7 separate regions of the Homo sapiens genome follow, and all the other regions are linked to region 1. Evidence: promoter capture Hi-C in 16 types of primary human blood cells and fetal thymus (Javierre and others, 2016). All regions are on one chromosome and are shown on one strand. Each heading gives the region's core, a stretch centred on a gene start or on the middle of the fragment in contact. The rest is flanking DNA. Distances are from core to core; before and after follow the strand shown.

What was found. Contacts are between HindIII fragments. The CHiCAGO score rates a contact against its expected background, and 5 or more counts as called.
Region 2: a contact is called between a fragment that was not itself captured here and the fragment with the promoter of CC2D1B in region 1, in 5 of 17 cell types (naive CD4 T cells, naive CD8 T cells, naive B cells and 2 more). The highest score is 6.4, in naive CD4 T cells.
Region 3: a fragment that was not itself captured here is called in contact with the fragment with the promoter of CC2D1B in region 1 in 6 of 17 cell types (non-activated CD4 T cells, total CD8 T cells, total B cells and 3 more); the score reaches 6.7 in non-activated CD4 T cells.
Region 4: a fragment that was not itself captured here is called in contact with the fragment with the promoter of CC2D1B in region 1 in 9 of 17 cell types (fetal thymus, naive CD4 T cells, naive CD8 T cells and 6 more); the score reaches 9.6 in fetal thymus.
Region 5: a fragment that was not itself captured here is called in contact with the fragment with the promoter of CC2D1B in region 1 in 12 of 17 cell types (endothelial precursors, M0 macrophages, naive CD4 T cells and 9 more); the score reaches 11.4 in endothelial precursors.
Region 6: a contact is called between a fragment that was not itself captured here and the fragment with the promoter of CC2D1B in region 1, in 1 of 17 cell types (fetal thymus). The highest score is 7.7, in fetal thymus.
Region 7: a fragment that was not itself captured here is called in contact with the fragment with the promoter of CC2D1B in region 1 in 2 of 17 cell types (endothelial precursors and erythroblasts); the score reaches 5.4 in endothelial precursors.

The regions. Positions count from the first base shown.
Region 1 is chr1:52,364,837-52,367,508 of GRCh38, forward strand. CC2D1B (coiled-coil and C2 domain containing 1B) reads right to left here and starts at 1,369. Exons shown (of 25, transcript NM_001330585.2): 1 at 1,233-1,369. RefSeq lists silencers at 969-1,078, 1,119-1,748. The HindIII fragment of the contact is 5,331 bases long and covers 1-1,965 here.
Region 2 is chr1:52,739,935-52,742,606 of GRCh38, forward strand. All of the region lies in intron 1 of ZYG11B (zyg-11 family member B, cell cycle regulator), which reads left to right. Among named protein-coding and RNA genes, the nearest start is that of ZYG11B, 15 kb to the left of the region's middle. The HindIII fragment of the contact is 1,738 bases long and covers 459-2,196 here.
Region 3 is chr1:52,720,143-52,722,814 of GRCh38, forward strand. No RefSeq gene overlaps it. Among named protein-coding and RNA genes, the nearest start is that of ZYG11B, 5.0 kb to the right of the region's middle. The HindIII fragment of the contact is 3,938 bases long and covers 1-2,672 here.
Region 4 is chr1:52,700,156-52,702,827 of GRCh38, forward strand. No RefSeq gene overlaps it. Among named protein-coding and RNA genes, the nearest start is that of COA7, 3.1 kb to the left of the region's middle. The HindIII fragment of the contact is 3,859 bases long and covers 1-2,672 here.
Region 5 is chr1:52,676,286-52,678,957 of GRCh38, forward strand. No RefSeq gene overlaps it. Among named protein-coding and RNA genes, the nearest start is that of COA7, 21 kb to the right of the region's middle. The HindIII fragment of the contact is 2,221 bases long and covers 268-2,488 here.
Region 6 is chr1:52,051,966-52,054,637 of GRCh38, forward strand. The region is part of intron 1 of TXNDC12 (thioredoxin domain containing 12); the gene reads right to left. TXNDC12-AS1 (TXNDC12 antisense RNA 1) reads left to right here. Exons shown (of 3, transcript NR_126385.1): 3 at 442-718. Among named protein-coding and RNA genes, the nearest start is that of TXNDC12, 1.9 kb to the right of the region's middle. The HindIII fragment of the contact is 1,063 bases long and covers 779-1,841 here.
Region 7 is chr1:52,069,585-52,072,256 of GRCh38, forward strand. All of the region lies in intron 3 of BTF3L4 (basic transcription factor 3 like 4), which reads left to right. Among named protein-coding and RNA genes, the nearest start is that of BTF3L4, 15 kb to the left of the region's middle. The HindIII fragment of the contact is 1,375 bases long and covers 670-2,044 here.

The sequences.
Region 1 (2,672 bases), core at 119-2,618:
ATGTTCTGAACGGACTCAAATTTAAAAAGCACATTCAGGGAAGTACTCTAGGTTCAGGGTGGGTGGAAGGCTGGGTAGAATTCAGAAAGGCTCTAAAGCTGTGCTTATGGAAGCCACAGCTGGCTATTTAATTTTAAATTTCAATGAATTAAAATGAAATAAAGCTAAAAATCCAGTCCATCAGCCACAACAGACACATTCCAAGTGCTTAACAGCCATATGTGGTGAGGGGCTATGACCAGACAGCACACACACAGAACATTTTCATCATCCAAGGACATGTCATCAAAGTTCCATCTCACAGCTGAGCTCTGGAGAAAGCTGGCTCAGCATTCTGATTCCCATAAAGATCTCACAGTTATTCACAGGACCTCCTGTGTCAGACCTTGCGCTGGGCACTGGGAGCGCAGAAATGAACCTAAGACGGTCTCAGCCTTCAATGACCATTTACAGGGTGGAGGTGGACTACACGGGGTTGCCCCAGGGGCCATGGGTGCCCTGAGGTGACCCCTTCTTCAGCCCTGGGAGAAAAGGCTCCTCCTTCGAGGCGGTGACGCCTGAGCTGAGTCACGCAAAGAAGTTGGGGGAAAGAGGGAAATAGGATTCCAAGACGAGGGAACACTTGACGGCTCTGAAGTGGGGAGCAGCTTGGCCTGTACAATGGAACCTGAGGCCTGGTATGACTGGGGCATAAGCGGTGAGGCCTGAATGCACAAGCCGAGGTGGAAATGTGAGCAAGCGGCAGAATATGAAAACCTCTAAGCCGAAAAGCGTTTGGGCATTATTCTGAGGGCGCTGGGAAAGAAGTGGCGGGATCGTATCGGTGTTTCAGAAACCCCATTCTGGCACCAAAGGGGAGGTGCACAGAAGGTAGGGGGAAAAGGCAGGAAGCCGGCGCATCTCGCCACAGCGCTGGCGGGGAGACCAGCTGACGGGCGTGGAGGCGGCGGGGAGCGGGCGGAGGAGCTGGCGGGCGCTCCGGGGGACTCTGAGTGTCAGATTTCGGGAGTGACTCCGGCTCAGGTGAAAGCGAGGCCAGACACTCCAAGGCTGCGGCCCCGATGACACAGCCAGGCCTCACGGAAGGTGGGCAACGGAGTCCGTAGGGGGAGGCGACACGGGACCCCCACTCCCGCGCTGCGGGACGCGCCGCCCTGCCCCGCCCGCGCCGCCTCCATCTACCCCCGCGGTCCCCAGAACTCCCCACGCCGAGGGGCGGGGACGCGGCATACCTCGCGGTGAATCCGAGCCAAACCCCGGCCTTGTCTCACCCGGCACCGCCCTGGGCTCCCGCGGGCCCTGGGCCGCAGCGGTAGCGACAGGAAGCGCCAGCAGGGGAGGTGGCTCGCGCGCAACACGTGACCCCACTGGCCGGCGGCCGGCAGTGCGCATGTGCACGGCTACGCGGGCGGGGGGCTCCAACAGGTGACACCGGGGCGGGGTTCGCAGCGCGCAGGCGCGTTCGGGTAGGTAGCGCAGGACAGGAACTCTGGGCGGTTCCGCCGGGGCGTCCACCGGCCGGCTCCAATGAGGTCGCTGCGCCCAGCCCTCGCCCACTTGCAGCCTCTCCACCGAACCTCCTCCCTCACTCAGCCCGAGGCGCTGGGCGCTCGCTCGCTCGCTGGACCTACCCCGCCTCCAGCCCTCGCCCCGCCCCACCGAGCAAGAGGGCGGGGCCTACCCAAGCTCCGCCCTGGAAGAGAGACAGGGGCGGGGCTCACCTGCTTGTCCATGTCCTTTAAGCCTGGGGAAATGGAAATGGGGCCCACCATATGTTTCTTAATAATTCAGCACCTGAAAGTATCCTTTTCCGGTCCGTTGAAAACTTCAGACAGGCAGAGCTCGCTGCACATCTTAAATACTTTACAGAGTCTAACACTAAGTTCTCACTCGCCTACCCTGCTGTGCAATCAAATGGCATGGAGGATATTAAGGAGAGAAACGGAGTATACCCGTTTTCTGCCAAGCTTGTGTCAGTCACTTTTCATAATGGAGCTTATACCAGTTCTCAATCCTGCAAGATGGACATCATCTCTAGAAGAAACGGAGGCTCAGAGAGAATTATTTGCCCAGGGAAATACAAAACCAACCTCTTTAGCATCAGTAAATATGCTCTAGTCTAGTTTTCTAAGGAAAGCACGTTTCTCCCTGCGGCTTGCAGAGTCCAGTTAACAAGAGATTGAGCTCAGGAGTCCGAGACCAGCCTGGGCAACATGGCGAAACCCTGTCTCTACAAAAAATTACAAATATTAGCCGGGTGTGGTGGTGCGTGCCTGTAGTCCTACCTACTGAGAGGCCGAGGCAGGAGAATCGCTGTGGCCCCGGAGGTCCAAGCTGCAATGAGCTGTCAACTGCACTCCAACCCGGGTGACAAGGTGAGACCCTGTCTCAAACTAAAACAAACAAAAAAACCGAGAGCGGAGTAATGGGGAAGTGGCCAGATTCCCATCTAAAGTAACCACTTCGATTTTGGGGGGAAAGAGAACGGCTTAAAAGGAAAATTTGATATGGGAAGCATGCAAGAATTGTACAGAGTACAACGTCTGTGTGTCTTGTTCTGGTGGCTATCTTGGGTCCCAGCCTACCTGGAGCGTGGGCTGGTCTCATCTCCACAATGGCCCCGCTGTTGACTAGCCACCTTGAAGTAATCTTTGGAATTTTGCAGCTGTGTC
Region 2 (2,672 bases), core at 78-2,577, 380 kb after region 1:
CATTTATTCCTCATTACTATTTTGTGGGATAGTCAAGAGGTTTAGCTTCAATTTTTCAGATAAGGAAACTGAGAAGTTAATTGACTTTCCTAAGGTCACACAGCTAGTAAGTAGCAGAGCCAGAACTGACTGTGCAAGCCCAGTGTTCTTTCCATTATTAACCCCACTTCTCTGTTTACCTTATTATATTTCAAAACTCCTGGTTATTGTAGGTAACAGGAAAATAGTGCTAAAGTATCTCTTTGAGTGGACAATTCCTGTGATCTGCTCAATGGCCACTGACCTGAATTTTTGTTTTGTTTCCTAGAATAGCTTTATCACATGACGTTAGATGAAAGAGCAGGGCATTTATGTAGCTTTCCAGCTCTTGATCTTTTTTAGGTAGAACTCTACCTCCTTGCCCTTTAGCACATATCCACTTGCCATAGTGGCCAGGCCTTAAAGTGATATGTGCAAGAAGCTTGCTTTACTTGCTTTTCAATTTGTCATCTAGGAGTCTCCAAAGAGTAGTTGGTGTTCTTTTAAAAAGAAAAACAATTCCCCATAGTTTATACCAAATAGTTCAATATCTCCATACCCTTAAACACAATGTTATCTATTGTCTGTGATCTATGCCCTTGGTACTACCTTCTTTTTTTTTTTTTTTTTTTTGAGACAGGGTCTCTGTCACCCAGGCTGGGTGCAAGTGGCACCATCTCAGCTCACTGCGACCTCCGCCTCCGGGGTTCAAGCAATTCTCATGGCTGAGTCTCCTGAGTAGCTTGGATTACAGGCATGCGCCACCACCCTTAGCTAATTTTTTGTATTTTTAGTAGAAACGGGGTTTCACCATGTTGGCCAGGCTGGTCTCCAACTCTTGGCCTCAAGTGATCTGCTCACCTTGGCCTTCCAAAGTGCTGGGATTACAGGTGTGAGCCACTGCGCCCTGCTGGTACTACCTTCTTGACCTTCCTCTTTGTCTGTAAAATGATTGCAGTTGGGGCGGGGGAGGGTAAGGGATTAGATCATCTCTAAGGTTATAGTAGATGTTTATTTCTGGAAGCCTGACTTGGTTGAATTTGTAATAGAAAATAAAAGTTTTTGCTGGGCGGGGTGGCTCATGCCTGTAATCCCAGCACTTTGGGAGGCCGAGGCGGGTGGATCACCTGAGGCCAGGAGTTCGAGATCAGTCTGGCCAACATGGTGAAACCCCATCTCTACTAAAAATACAAAAAGTAGCCGGGTGTGGTGGCATGCACCTGTAATCCCAGCTACTCGAGAGGCTAAGGCAGGAGTATTGCTTGAATCCAAGAGGCAGAGGTTGCAGTGAGCCGAGATTGCACCATTGCACTCCAGCCTGGGGCAAAAGAGTGAGACTTCGTCTCAAAAAAAAAAAAAAAAAAAAAGAAAAGAAAAGAAAGTTTTTTAAAAACCCAAACAACTAAGAGGAGATTTTCCATGGAGTATTACGATGAGAAGTCAGAGATATCTAACATCTCAATTTCTCATAGGTACCTGTGAACTCAAATGATACTTGAGTGCCTTTCAGTTTCATTTTGGTTTCAAGGCTAGACTTGGGACTTAATATTTCTCTCTGGATACGTAGTCTTTTTCTCTAGAGGCAAATGTGTATTTTAGTTATGCTTAACAATAAATTCATGCTTGACTTTTCATTTATTCATGCAATAAACATTTAGTGCCCACTATGTAGTAGGCATTGTTTTAGGCTCTGAGAATACAGTAGAGAAGAAAATGCGGGGTTTTTTTCTATGCAGCTGATATTCTGTGGTAATAACATTTATTGAGCAGGTAGTATATGCCAGTTACTGTTCTTAGTGTGTTGCATTTAGAATTTATTTAATTCTGGCAACAATCCTATGACATAGGCACTGCTCTTGTCTTCATTTTACAATCATGAAACTGAGGTTCAGGGAGATTAAGTACTTTGCTTAAGGTTATATAGGTTTGTAAATGGTAGAGGTGGCATTTTAATCCAGGCAGTCTGACTCCCAAGCCCACACTCTTCATCATAGTATTACATAGTCTTTTAGAAAGATATCCATAAAAAATCTATTTCTATCATTAAATTGTCGAGTTTGTAATTTTTGTAGTCACCTGATTTCTGGCCCAATCTTTAGAAAAAAGTCACCCAAAGATACAATAAAGGAGCACTGTGAAAGCCCTTGTGTTCTGTTACAGGAATTGTCAGTCTTAGGAAGCTTTTGGGTAGGACATCTTGAGCCTGATTCTTATGAGTTGAGAGACCAGGCATGGTGACTCACGCCTATTACCCCAGCACTTTGGAGGCTGAGGCAGGAGGATCACTTGAGCCCAGGAGTTCAAACCTGAGCAACATAGTAAGACCCCGTCTCTACACAAAAACAAAAAATTAGCCAGACATGATGACACGTGCCTGTAGTCCCAGCTATTCGGATGGCTGAGGTGGGAGGATCTCTTGAGCCTGGGAAGTCGAGGCTGCAGTGAGTTGTGATTATGCTATTGTACTCCAGCCTGGGTGACAGAGCAAGACCCTGTCTCTAAAAAAAATAAAAGATAGAAAAAGAGATGTAAAAGAGAGAATTTTTTTTGTATTTTTTTACAGCTGTACAATGTGTTTATGTTTTGTTACTTCAAGAGTCAAAAAGTAGGCCAGGCGCGGTGGCTCACGCCTGTAATCCCAGCACTTTCGGAGG
Region 3 (2,672 bases), core at 109-2,608, 360 kb after region 1:
ACATCACCCCTCCTTTCCACACAGTATCTTATCAATCATAGATCTTTGCCAATCTGACAGATGAGAAATGGTAATTTCAAAGAAATTCTAATTTGCCTTTATCTTATTATTATAAGTAAGAGTGAGCATTGAAGAGCCATTTCTATTTCTTTTTCTGTGAACTATCAGTTCACATCTTTTGTGCATTTTTCCCCTTGGGTTTTGTTCTTATTGATTTCAGCTCTGAATACAAATATAAACATTATTCATTTTCCTATATGAAATGCATACATATATACATATAGTCATTTGTTATCTGACTCTACTTATGGTGACTTTTGCCTTACATTTTTTATTTCTACATAGCTGAATTTATCAATCTTTTCTGTTATGGCATCTTGGTTTTGTTTTGTACTTATTTATTTATTTATTGAGACGGAGTTTCCCTCTTTTGCCCAGGCTGGAGTACAGCGGCGCAATCTTGGCTCACTGCAACCTCCGCCTCCCGGTTTCAAGGGATTCTCCTGCCTCAGCCTCTGGAGTAGCTGGGATTACCACCATGCCCGGCTAATTTTTGTATTTTTAGTAGAGACGGGGTTTTGCCATGTTGGCCAGGGTGGTCTCGAACTCCTGACCTCATGATGTGCCCACCTCAGCCTCCCAAAGTGCTGGGATTACAGGCATGAGCCACCGTGCCCAGCTCTTGTTTTGTACTTAAGAAGACCTTCCTTACTTTAAGATTCTAAAAAATTCTCCCATGATTCTTTCTTCCAGTATGTTATGGTTTCCTTCTTTCTTTTTTTTTTTCTTTTTTTTTTTTTTTTTTTTTGTGACGGAGTCTCGCTCTGTCGCCCAGGCCGGACTGCGGACTGCAGTGGCGCAATCTCGGCTCACTGCAAGCTCTGCTTCCCGGGTTCACGCCATTCTCCTGCCTCAGCCTCCCGAGTAGCTGGGACTACAGGCGCCCGCCACCGCGCCCGGCTAATTTTTTGTATTTTTAGTAGAGACGGGGTTTCACCTTGTTAGCCAGGATGGTCTCGATCTCCTGACCTCGTGATCCACCCGCCTCGGCCTCCCAAAGTGCTGGGATTACAGGCGTGAGCCACCGCGCCCGGCGCTTCTTTCTTTTTTACTTTTTTTTTTTTTTTTTTTTTTTTTGAGACAGAGTCTCGCTCTGTTGCCCAGGCTGAAGTGCAGTGGCGCGATCTCGGCTCACTGCAAGCTCCGCCTGCCGGGTTCACGCCATTCTCCTGCCTCAGCCTCCCGAGTAGCTGGGACTGCAGGCGTCCGCCACTGCGCCCGGCTAATTTTTTGTATTTTTAGTAGAGACGGGGTTTCACCGTGTTAGCCAGGATGGTCTCGATCTCCTGACCTCATGATCTGCCCACCTCGGCCTCCCAAAGTGCTGGGATTACAAGCGGGAGCCACTGTGCCCGGCTTTTTTTTTTTTTTTTTTTTTGAGACGGAGTCTCACTCGGTCATCCAGGCTGGAGTGCAGTGGCTCGATCTTGGCTCACTGCAATCTCTGCCACCCAGGTTCAAGCGATTCTCTTGTCTCAGCCACCGGAGTAGCTGGGATTACAGCCGTTGCCTGTAATTTTTGTAGTTTTAATAGAGACGGAGTTTCACCATCTAGGTCAGGCTGGTCTTGAACTCCTGACCTTGTGATCCACCTGCCTTGACCTCTCAAAGTGCTGGAAGCCACTGTGCCCGGCCTAATTTTGTATTTTTAGTAGAGATGGGGTTTCACCATCTTGGCCAGGGTGGTCTTGAACTCGACTTCAAGTGATCTGCCTGCCTGGGCCTCCCAAAGTGCTGGAATTACAGGCGTGAGCCACCATGCTCGTTCTTCTTTTTTACATTTTAATATTTGATATATTTGAAATTTGTCTTGGTGAATAGTGTGAAGTATAAATCCAAGTTAAAATTTTCTAGATGTCTATCCAGTTATTCTAACACCAAATACAATTCCAACTTTTGCTTTCTGACTTGAAATGCTACCTTCAGTATTATACTAAATTCCTAGGTAATTTGGATGTATTTTTGATCTGTTTGTGCTTCATTGATTGCAAATCAAGCAAATCAACTGTGACTCCATTCTTTCTTGATTGCAGAACTCTTATTTATTTATTTATTTTTGGAGATAGGGTCTTACTCTGTCACACAGGCTGGAGTGCAGTGGCGTGATGATGCCTCATAGCAGCCTCGACCTCCAGGGCTCAGGTGATCCTCCCACCTCAGTCTCTTGAGTAGCTGAAACTACCACCATGCCCAGCTACTTTTTGGTATTTTTTTGTAGAGATGGGATTTTGCCATTTTGCCCAGGCTGGTCTCAAACTTTTGGTCTCAAACCATCTGCCTGCCTTGGCCTCCCAAAGTGCTGGGATTACAAGTGTGAACCACCTTGGCTGGCTAGAACTCTAATTTTTTTTTCTTTCTTTTTTTTTTTTTTTTTTTTTGAGAAGGAGTCCCTCTCTGTCGCCCAGGCTGGAGTGCAATGGAGTGATCTTGGCTCACTGCAACTTCCGCCTGCCGGGTTCAAGCGAGTCTCCTGCCTCAGCTTCCTGAGTAGCTGGGACTACAGGTGCGCACCGCTACACCCAGCTAATTTCTTTTGTATTTTTAGTAGAGATGGAGTTTCACCATGTTGGCCGGGCTGGTCTTGATCTCCTAACCTCATGATCCACCCACCT
Region 4 (2,672 bases), core at 117-2,616, 340 kb after region 1:
TAGGATTTTACATTCATTTCCCCATAATACATCTTTCATAGGATAACAGAAGATTGCCTTTTCTCCCCCAAGCCTTTGAGTAAAATTGACATTCCAGGCAATATACCACATTTACCTGTGGTTTCTTATACCCTGATCACCTTAGGGGACTCCTCAGTACACATGGCCCAGGATGGGAATCCTTGAACTTTGGTTTGAGGTCATCTTCTTTAGGATGGCCTTCAAGACCCTGTGCAATCTGATTCTAGCCTTATTTTCTGCCTCTCTTCCCCCACATCCCACCAACCTTCTGTTCTCTGAATAGATCCCAAGTTTGTGTCCCTGTTTACCTCTGCTCTTGATGCCTGGACCACCCTTTTTGACACAAATCGGAAATACTCTCCTATGTAAAGTCTTCCCAGACACAACAATTACACACATTCAAATTAGATTTAGATGCTCCCATTTTGGTGTTCCACACCACTTGGTTTATTCTGGTATAGTGTAGTAGGAAAGAAAGAACTGGCTTTGGAGTGGGGACAGATCTTAGTTCAGAATCCATGTTCCATGTTTATTAAATTGTAACCTTAAACCAATCATGTTTGTGAGTCTGAATCCTCTTCTGTAAATGCAGATCCATTTGTAATGGCTGTCAGAAGGACTACAAGTTCATGTATGCAATGTGCTTGGCAGAGCGCCTGGCTCAAAGTCATTCCTGTTCCAGGAATGTTTCTTGTCATGCCAATAATGGCATGAAAGTCTGTGTTCCCCACCAGACTGTGACCTCTGTGTCCTGTATGCTGGTCACAGGGCCAAGAATAGAATAGGGCTTGATGATAGAATAGAGCAGGGTGATGTCGATTACTAAAATCTGGGAATGTTTCCCTTTATTTTCTGAGTTGAACTGCATTGAAATGAGATCACCTGAGCGGTAGAGGGCACAAGAGAGTTAGTTGGTGATGAGAGGCTCAACCAAGTAAGAGGTCACTTTTTTTTGTTTTGCTCTTTCATCCAGGCTAGAGTGCAGTGGCGTGATTTTGGCTCACCGCAACCTCCGCCTTACGGTTTCAAGCAATTCTCCTGCCTCAGCCTCCTGAATAGCTGGGATTACAGGCGCCCACCACAATGCCCGCCTAATTTTTGTATTTTTAGTAGAGATGGGGTTTCACCATATCGGCCAGGCTGGTCTCGAACTCCTGACCTCGTGATCCGTTTGAACTAACTGTTGCCTCTGCCCTAGAGTGCTTTTCCCCTGTATTTTTTTTTTTTTTTTGGCTTGCCTTCTTAAGTTCTCTGCTTCAATTTGACATCGTCCATGTGGTCTTAGCTCATTCTTGTTATAATAACAGTGTCTTGATTGTGCCCAGCAATATTAGGTGCCCAAGTATTGTTGACTGAATTAAGAAGAGGGATTATCATTCCAAATAATTTGGTTTTCATTAATGGAACTTAGAATATCACTGACTCTTGCTCTTTTGACCCAGGTTTTTCTTAAAGCTATAAGAAACATTAAATGAAGGTCTAATTGACATACAGGAAACTGCACATAACTTTAAAGTAACAATTATGAGTTTCTACATATGTATACACCTGTAAACCATTATCACAATCAAGATAATGAGCATATTCATCACCTCAAAATTTCCTCATGTGACTTTGTACTTCATTCCCTCCCCAGCAACCATTAATCTGCTTTCTGTCACTGAAGATGGGTTGCATTTTGTAGGATATTATCTAAATAGAATGATACAGTAAGTACTGTTTCTTTTTGTATAGTTTCTTCGATTCAGCATAATTATTTTGAGATTCATCCATGTTACCACACGTATTAATAGTTCATTCTTTTTCTTAGTGAATGACATTTCATGATGTAGATATATCACAATTTGTTTATCCATTTGGGTTTCCAGTTTTTGGCTTACAAATAAAGCTGCTGTGAATATTTGTGTACGTGTCTTTGTATGGGCATTCATTTCCATTTTTGGGGTTCATACCTAGGAGTGGAATGGCTAGATCATATGGTAGGTATATATCTAACTTTAAGAAACACCCAAACTGTTTTCTAAAGTGATTCTACCATTACATTCTTACCAGCAGTGTTTGACAGTTCTAGTTGCCCTACATCCTCACCATAATTTGATGTGTGGTCAGTCTTTTAAAATTTTAGCCATTATAGTGAATATAACAGTATCTTATCATAGGTTTAGTTTGTATTTTTTTGAGTGACCAATAATGTTGGCATCTTTTCATGTGCTTATCTGCCATCTGTGTATCTTTGATGACATGTTTGTTAAAATCTTTCGCCCCCTTTTTATTGGATTGTTTTTTATTATTGCATTCTAAGAGTTATTTATATATTCAAGTCCGTTATCAGAAGTTTTGCATATATTTTCTCCCAGTTTGGCCTGCCTTTTTTGTTTTTATAACAGTGTCTTTCAAAACCAAAAGTTTTTCATTTTAATGGTGTGTCTAGTTTATTGATTTTTTTCCTCTTGTTAATAGTTTGTGCTTTTTCTTTCGTATTCAAGAAGTCTTTGCCAAACCCAAAGTCACTAAGATTTTATCCTATATTTTCTTGTAGAAATTTTATGGTTTAAATCTTATATTTAGAAAGCCTATGATCCATTTCAGATTAATTTTTGTATGAGGTATGAGATAACAGTTGAGGTTCACTTTATTGCATGTGGGTTTAT
Region 5 (2,672 bases), core at 128-2,627, 310 kb after region 1:
GAGGTCTTGAGAGTGCTCTTCTCTCCTCACAGAAGCAGGGTCACTGGCAGAGGGAGCCCAGGCTCCAACCCAGCTCTGCCGCATATTCACTGTGACTTTGGGTAAGTTCTCAGTATCTCTGAGCCCCAATTTCCTCACCTGTAAAATGGGTTCCATACTTAGACCTCCCTTACAGGATGTTCCCCACTTCAGGAGGCGCCCTGCACACAGTGGGCAGTTAATGAATGTTGCTGTTATTACACCACCCCAGGGCAGCTTCAAGGTCAAAGCTTGATGCCACTGATGTCTGGAGTCCACTGGGGCCTCCTGGAACCTGATCGGACACCGTCATCTTGGGGAGAGTAGGGTCAGCTGCTATTCTTGGAGCTGATGGAACCCAGCCGGGTTTCAAGTTCCCTCAGGGAGCCCTGGCCCAGGCAGCTTGGCTGGTCATGTGAGCAGTGAAGTCTGACCTCAGCAAGTTCTCCTGGACTCTCCGCATGGCCCCAGCTGGAGGGAACTTGGGCACAGAGCGTGCTACAGGGAGTCCATGTCCTCCTGCAGCTGACCTTAGCCTTTTAGCTCCTGTTCATCAGCATCTACTTGGTACCCAAAAGGTCCTCGGGTGCTGTTTGAGGGTCTCCCTGAGACTGCAAAGTGTTTCCAACATCAGGATGTGAGGCAGCCTTGAGTCATATGAAGAGGGTTTAGGAGACAAGCAGGACTAAGTTCTAATCCCGGCTGCAATACTCATTGGTCTGTGAGTCTTTCTGTAAGCCACTTTGGCTGAGCCTCAGTTTATTTGAAAAACAGTGAGAATGAAAGTTTCCTGAGATGATTAGAGCATCTGGTACAAAGTAGTTGCTCAATAAATGATCAAAATTTAGACTGTAATTTCCTAAATGATAAAGACTCTGTCAAATCCAGCCCTGCATCCCCAGCGCCCAACCTAGGGCCACCCAGCCTAGAGGAAGCCCTCAGTGTTGACCATATGAATAATGAATTATGGAGGGCACTGAATGGAAATGCCTTATCTGGCTCCCATCTTTCAGGTTTTGCATACTCACTCCACCCAAATCTCATATAGAGTTAGTCCCCTCTGCATCAGCCCTGACAGGCGAGCATCTCCTCTCTTCTTGCATATCCCTGTAATAGGAAGTTCACCTCCTCCCAGAGCTTCTCATTCTGCCAAGTAGAAAATGCTTTCTTCCACTCAGATGTCGATGAACTGAGTTCTGTCTCCTAGCAGCTTCCATCCATTGGGCCTAGTTCTGCTCTCTGGAGCTGTACAGAACAAGCCTAGTTCTGCTTCCGAAAGATAGCCCTCCAGTGAGCTATTACACAATTTAGAATGTGCCAGGCATCGAGCCAGGCACTGCACTTACTTTATCTCATTAAACCCTTTAACCCTTACACTAACCCTGAAAAGTAAACATTATCCTTACTCTAGAGATGAGGAAAATGAGGCTCATAGAGGAAACATAACACATTTGCAGAGAAATTATTTAAATCCAGATTCTTTTCCAAAACGCTACCTTTTCAATGCTCAGTTGATCTACTGGAAGATAGCATTTGTCTCTGAGAGTTTCCCTTCCCTTCCCTTTCCTTCAATAAAGATTTATTATGTATCTCATCTGTACCAGATCCTGAGCTAGGCACAGGGAATAGAAATGAGACATAATCTATTAGGACATAATCTATTGGGACAGGCACTTAACAGCCTGTCCCAAACCATGTGAAAAGGACAGAGACAGGCTGGGCATAGTAGTGCCATCATTTTGGGAGGCTGAGGCAGGTGGATCGCTTGAGTTCAGAAGTTTGAGACCAACCTGGGCAACATAGTGAGAACTTGTCTCTGTTTTTAAAAAATCAAATTAAGCCTGGACGAAGTGGCTCACGCCTGTAATCCCAGCACTTTGGGGGGCCAAGGCAGATGGATCACTTGAGGCCAGGAGTTCGAGACCAGCCTGGCCAACAGGCCAACATGGCAAAAGCCCATCTCTACTAAAAATACAAAAATTAGGCAGGATGCCAGGTGCCTGTAATCCCACCTACTTGGGGGGCTGAGGCAGGAGAATCGCTTGAACTTGAGAGGCAGAGGTTGCAGTGAGCCGAGATCATGCCATTGCACTCTAGCCTGGGCAACAGAGTGAGACTCTGTCTCAAAAAAAAAACAAAAACAAAAAAACCCACTAAATTTTAAAAAAGGAAAGAAAGAACTGAGAGAAGCACAAGGACTATCAGAAGACCACGGAACTTGAGGGTCCAGGATGACTTCCTGGAGGAGGTGACATGTGGGCTAAGTTTTAAAGGACTATTAGGAATTGTAAAGAGCTGAAGGTGTGGAGACCAGACTGCAGAGGGGTTGTAGTGACAAGCTAAGGAGCTGCGGCTTTACACCACTTGAGTGGGCTGCCCATTTTAGTATGAATAAGAATTTCCCGTGGTTTTCTTATTTAAAATCCAGATTTTCATTCCGTAGGTCTTGGTGGACCCAGACATCAGCAAAAGCTTGGCTGTAAGAAACAGCCTGGGTATTTTGTTGTTACTTTTTCTTTTAAAATATTTAATGGATAAACAAAAAGTGTATATATTCAAGGTATACAGTGTGATGATTTGATATACATTGTGTACTGATTACTATAGTCAAATTAATGAACGCATCCATCACCACTTAATTTCTCTCTGTGTGT
Region 6 (2,672 bases), core at 60-2,559, 310 kb before region 1:
TATTATTATTTCCATGGGGGAAATAATACTGGTTAATGTTTATTAAATATTTTCTAAGTGTCCGACACAATATTAAGTGCCTTTTGTTTTTTGATTGAATCCTCCCAACCCAGCCCCACTGCCCTAAGCTGCCCTTCTATGTGCTCCTGCAGCTACCTGGTATTTCTCTGCTTAAAGCACATATCATGCTGCCATGTAACTGTCTGCTTACTTGTCTTGGTATCTTACCAGACTGCAAGCTGAAAAAGGACAGGAATCACAATTATCATGTTTATCATTCATTTCCTCTTTCAACAAATATTCCTGAGCATGAACAAGACAGAAATAGTCCTGGTTCACTGTGGCAGATATGCCCTTCTTACAATGTGACCTCAACATACCTCCCATTGGGGGTGAGGGTGGGGGTCCTAATATTCCATTCCCTTGAATCTGCCCCTACAGGGTACTGTGGAAGTGATGCTATGTGCCTTGTAAGGCTAGGTGACAAAAATGCCATGCATTTCCACCTTGTTCTCTTATGGCACGCACTCTTGGAATCCAGCCTCCCATAAAGCTACTGTGAGGAAACCCATAGGAGCCCATGCGGAAAGATCACATGGAGAGGTAACCAGCTTAGCCAAGGCCCCAGTCATCATAGAACAGGGACAAGCCTTTCCCAGTGTGCCTTGTTTGAATTCCTTACTCACACAATTGTGAGCATAATAAAATGATTTCTTCATGCCCACTAAATTTTGGAGTGATTTATTACACAACAATGGTAACTGGAACAACCACACAAAGCTTAATATCTAACAAGGAATAAAAATACAAAATACCTGATTCCAAGGTATTACCTACACCTAACACAGTAACTTGAACAGAGCAAATTATTTGTTGAGTGTCTGAGGTAGTTATGATGCCCATTTTGCAGATGAGGAACGGAGGCTTTGAGAGTTAAGAAACTTGCCCAAGGCTACTCAGCTAGTGAGTGGCAGAACAAATTAAAACTCAGATCTAGGCCTGGCGCAGTGGCTCCCGCCTATAATCCCAATACTTTGGGAGGCCAAGGAGGGAGGATTACCTGAGGTCAGGAGTTTGAGATCAGCCTGGCCAACATGGTGAAACTCCATCTCTACTAAAAATACAAAAAAATACAAAAAAAAAAAAAATTAGCTGGGCATAGTGGCACATGCCTGTAGTCCCAGCTACTTGGGAGGCTGAGGCAGGAGAATCATTTGAACCCGGGAGGCAGAAGTTGCAGTAAGCCGAGATTGCACCACTCCACTCCAGCCTGGCAGAGTGAGACTCCGTCTCAAAAACAAAAGCAAACAAACAAACAGAAAAAACAGCAAAGAAAAAACTCAGATCTAAACCCACGTACCCAACACTCTACTCTTCTGTTACTCTCAGTACTTACAACTTTAAATATACAGTAGCTGGCTGGGCGCAGTGGCTCATGCCTGTAATCCCAGCACTTTGGGAGGCCGAGGCGGGCAGATCATGAGGTCAGGAGTTTGAGACCAGCCTTGCCAACATAGTGAAACCCCGTCTCTACTAAAAATACAAAAAATTAGCCAGACGTGGTGGCAGGCACCTGTAATCCCAGCTACTCGGGAGGCTAAGGCAGGAGAATCGCTTGAACCCAGGAGGCGGAGGTTGCAGTGAGCCAAGATCATGCCACTGGACTCCAGCCCGAGCAACAGTGTGAGACTCTGTCTAAAAAACAAAACAAAACAACAACAAAAAAAAACGGTAGTCTGTTTTAAAATGGGATTGTCAGTATTTAAAACATTCTGGCCTAACAGGATTTGTCATGCAGTTTCATCACTGAGATGGAAACCCACATATCACCTTCTCCAAAAAGCTTCTCCTGACCTTCATAATTCAAGTGATGCCAGCTCCACCAACCTCCCCAGCCTTTCTACTTCCTATTCCATCACAGTCTTATTGTTTTCCCAGCACTTGTTCCTAGTTGAAACTGTCTTATTAATTTGTTCATGAGTCTACTCTGTCTCTCTGACATGAATATAAGCTCCACCAGAGTAGGAACCTTGTCTGTCCTGTTTACAGCTATATCCCTAGTGCCTAGGACAGTGCCTGAAATATAGGAGGTGATCAAAAATTATTTACGGAATGAAGGAATGATTGCATTCAGGCAAAATGAATGCCCACCCAATCTTATTACTCACCAATAGATGTGAAAATAGAGAGGATAAGAGAAAACAAAAACAGAAGGATTGCAGCAGAATCATTCCATACAGTAAGGTCAGTGAAAAAAAAAAAAGGAAGAGGGGTTGGGATCCATGCTACAATTCATCTACTTAGAAAAGCATAAACTCTGAGTTCACAGACTGTCAGTCCAACTTTCAACTAAGTAAGGGCTGATGAGGAGAGAGGTGTTAAAACTTAGAATGGAGATGTAGGTAATGGATGGAGTAGGGGGCCACACCTCCTAACCTCCATTCATAACCACTGATCGCTCACTTACAAAAAAACTTCGCTGAACCACAGCAAGGACAATTGTTGGGGACCCTTAAACAGCAGACCTTCTACCATTCGCTTGGCTCTTCTTATGCACTAGATACAGCTACCTGGGATGCAGGTGCTGTTTCCCAAAGGCAAGCAAGTGGCAGTAACCTAGCTCTTCGCGGAAGAAGTAACGAGAGAAATCTTCAGACCCAGAACAGGGTCCT
Region 7 (2,672 bases), core at 107-2,606, 300 kb before region 1:
GCCTTTTTGAGTTTTGGCAGTTTAAAGCAGATAAAAACTTTTGAGAAGAAAAGACACTTTTTGCCATTATTGTGAAACAATATGATAGTACTTTCTGTGCTTAGACCTTCAAAACATGAAAAAGTAGAAAGTGCTCAGTTTAGGGAGTGAGGAACAGGGAGAGCAGTAGTGGATCTCAAAATTCATTGAATGCACTTAGGCCAAGTAAAGTGTTTCTCCATACCCCTAATTTTCTACTGTCAGTACTGAATGTCACTAACATTAGTACTATCCAAGCTATCAGTATTTGTGATTTTTTTTCCCCCTTCCAGAGCTTAATTGGTGTCCTCTTCAGAAACTTTAAAAACTAAGGTTGGGTGCGGTGGCTCACTCCTGTAATCGTAGCACTTTGGGAGGCCAAAGCAGGTGGATCACCTGAGGTCAGGAGTTCAAGACCAGCCTGGCCAACATGGTACAACACTGTCTCTACTAAAAATACAGAAATTAGCTGAGTGTGGTGGTGCATGCCTGTAATCCTAGCTACTCAGGAGGCTGAGGTAGGAGAATCGCTTGAACCTGGGAAGCAGAGGTTGCAGTGAGCTGAAATCGTGCCATTGCACTCTAGCCTGGGCGACAGAGCAAGACTGTCTAAAAAAAAAAAAAAACTAAAAGACTATTTGGAATAAGACAAGCTTCTCTGACCTTCTTTGGTTCATTGATTTGGTATAATAGTTCATTGGTATAATAGTTCATTTGGTATAATAGTTCATTTGGTATAATAGTTCATTGATTTGGTATAATAAATTATATATAGGTTTGTTTGTTTGTTTTTAATGTTACCAAACAAAGAAAAATCCAAGGCTGTCAGAAACTAAAGGATAGGACTTCAGGAGGCTGAGGCAGGGGAATCGCTTGAACCCTGGAGGCAGAGGTTTCAGTGAGCCCAGATCATGCCACTGCACTCCAGCCTGGTGACAGAGCAAGACTCCATCTCAAAAAAAAAAAAAACAAAACTAAGGGATGAGGGGTTTCAGAGACAGTTTCATACAAAGGTCAAATAAATAACCAGCTTTTTTTTTTTTTTTTTGGTGGGGGGATGGTCTCACTGTGTTACTCAGGCTGGAGTGCAGTGGCACAGTCTTGGCTCACTGCAACCTACTGCCTCCTGGGTTCAAGCAATTCTCATGCCTCAGCCTCCTGAGTGGCTGGGATTATAGGCGCACCACCACATCTGGCTAATTTTTATATTTTTAGTAGAGACGGGGTTTCACCACATTGGCCAGGCTCGTCTCAAACTCCTGACCTCAGAAGTTCCACCTGCCTTGGCCTCCCAAAGTCCTGGGAGGATTACAGGTGTGAGCCACTGCGCCTGGCCAATAACCAGCTTTTTGAAAGGAATTCTTAGGCAGACTTACAGAGTATCATCCAGAACCAAATTTCTGAAAATGTTTTATGTTCTGTAACATTTGAAAATATTTGAATGTGCTTGTTATTTGGTAATCTAGTTGAATGTAGTGACTGTGCTGTCACCTTTTCTTCCCCAATTGCATGAATCCATTGACAAAAGGATCTGTTTTATTTCTCAGAAACAACAGATTTTTTCCAGTTTATTTGGTAAGAAGTGTAACCAAAAAGCACTTTCCGATTCAGATGCCCTAATTGTTCCAAGTTGCTTCATAGAGTTTTATAATAATATTCAGAGGACAGCTTCTGTCTTAATCAGGGTATAATTCAGCCTCCATGAAACCCTTCCTGTCTTTCCAGGTATAGTCAACCCTTTCTCTGTACTTTTACTGCTGTTAGCCTAAGTTGCTCTTCTATAATATGTTTTTCGCTATCTCATATCGTGGTGTATAATGGTAACTTATTAATCCAGTAGTCTGTTTTCAGTAGCTTATAAAGAGTCTTGACGGCTGGGAACATGTTTATTCGTTGTTTCTAGTTTATAGCATGCTGATTCTCTGTGATGAGTTTGCTTAGAACCTATTAAATTTAAGAGGTACTGATTATTCCAGGTGGGATTGTTCTGCAGTAAGTTAGCTATAGGGAGCTAGGGCTTAGAGAAAGCTTAAGGCTGGGAATATAAATTTTGTAATTGGACACATAAGTTTTACTTTTTACATTTTCCTCTTCCTGGTTCTTGTTTTTTCTGAACCAGTTGTACAGAAAGAGGACCTAAAGTTAATGGCGGGCTCTTCCTGCAGTTCCTTCTTCCTCCAGCTAGAGCCTCAGGTGCCCATAGATAGACAGCTCTGAGTACACGAGAGTAAAAGGGAAGCACCATGTCCTATTCACTTTACCATTCCATAGCATCCTTCTTTCTCTCTTAGGGTCCTGTTCTTTTGGCTTTTTGTTTTGTTTTTTACTCTGTGTGTGTGTGTGTGTGTGTGTGTGTGTGTGTGTGTGTGTGTAGATATATCTATATATATATCACAAAATTTGCCATTTTAGCCAGGGTTTTTTTTTGTTTTTTTTTTTTGGTTTTTTGTTTGTTTTTTGTTGTTGTTTTGAGGTGCAGTCTCGCTCTTTTGCCCAGGCTGGAGTGCAGTGGTGCGATCTCGGCTCACTGCAAGCTCCGCCTCCTGTGTTCACACCATTCTCCTGCCTCAGCCTCCCGAGTAGCTGGGACTACAGGCGCCCGCCACCACGCCTGGCTAATTTTTTGTATTTTTAGTAGAGATGGGGTTTCACCA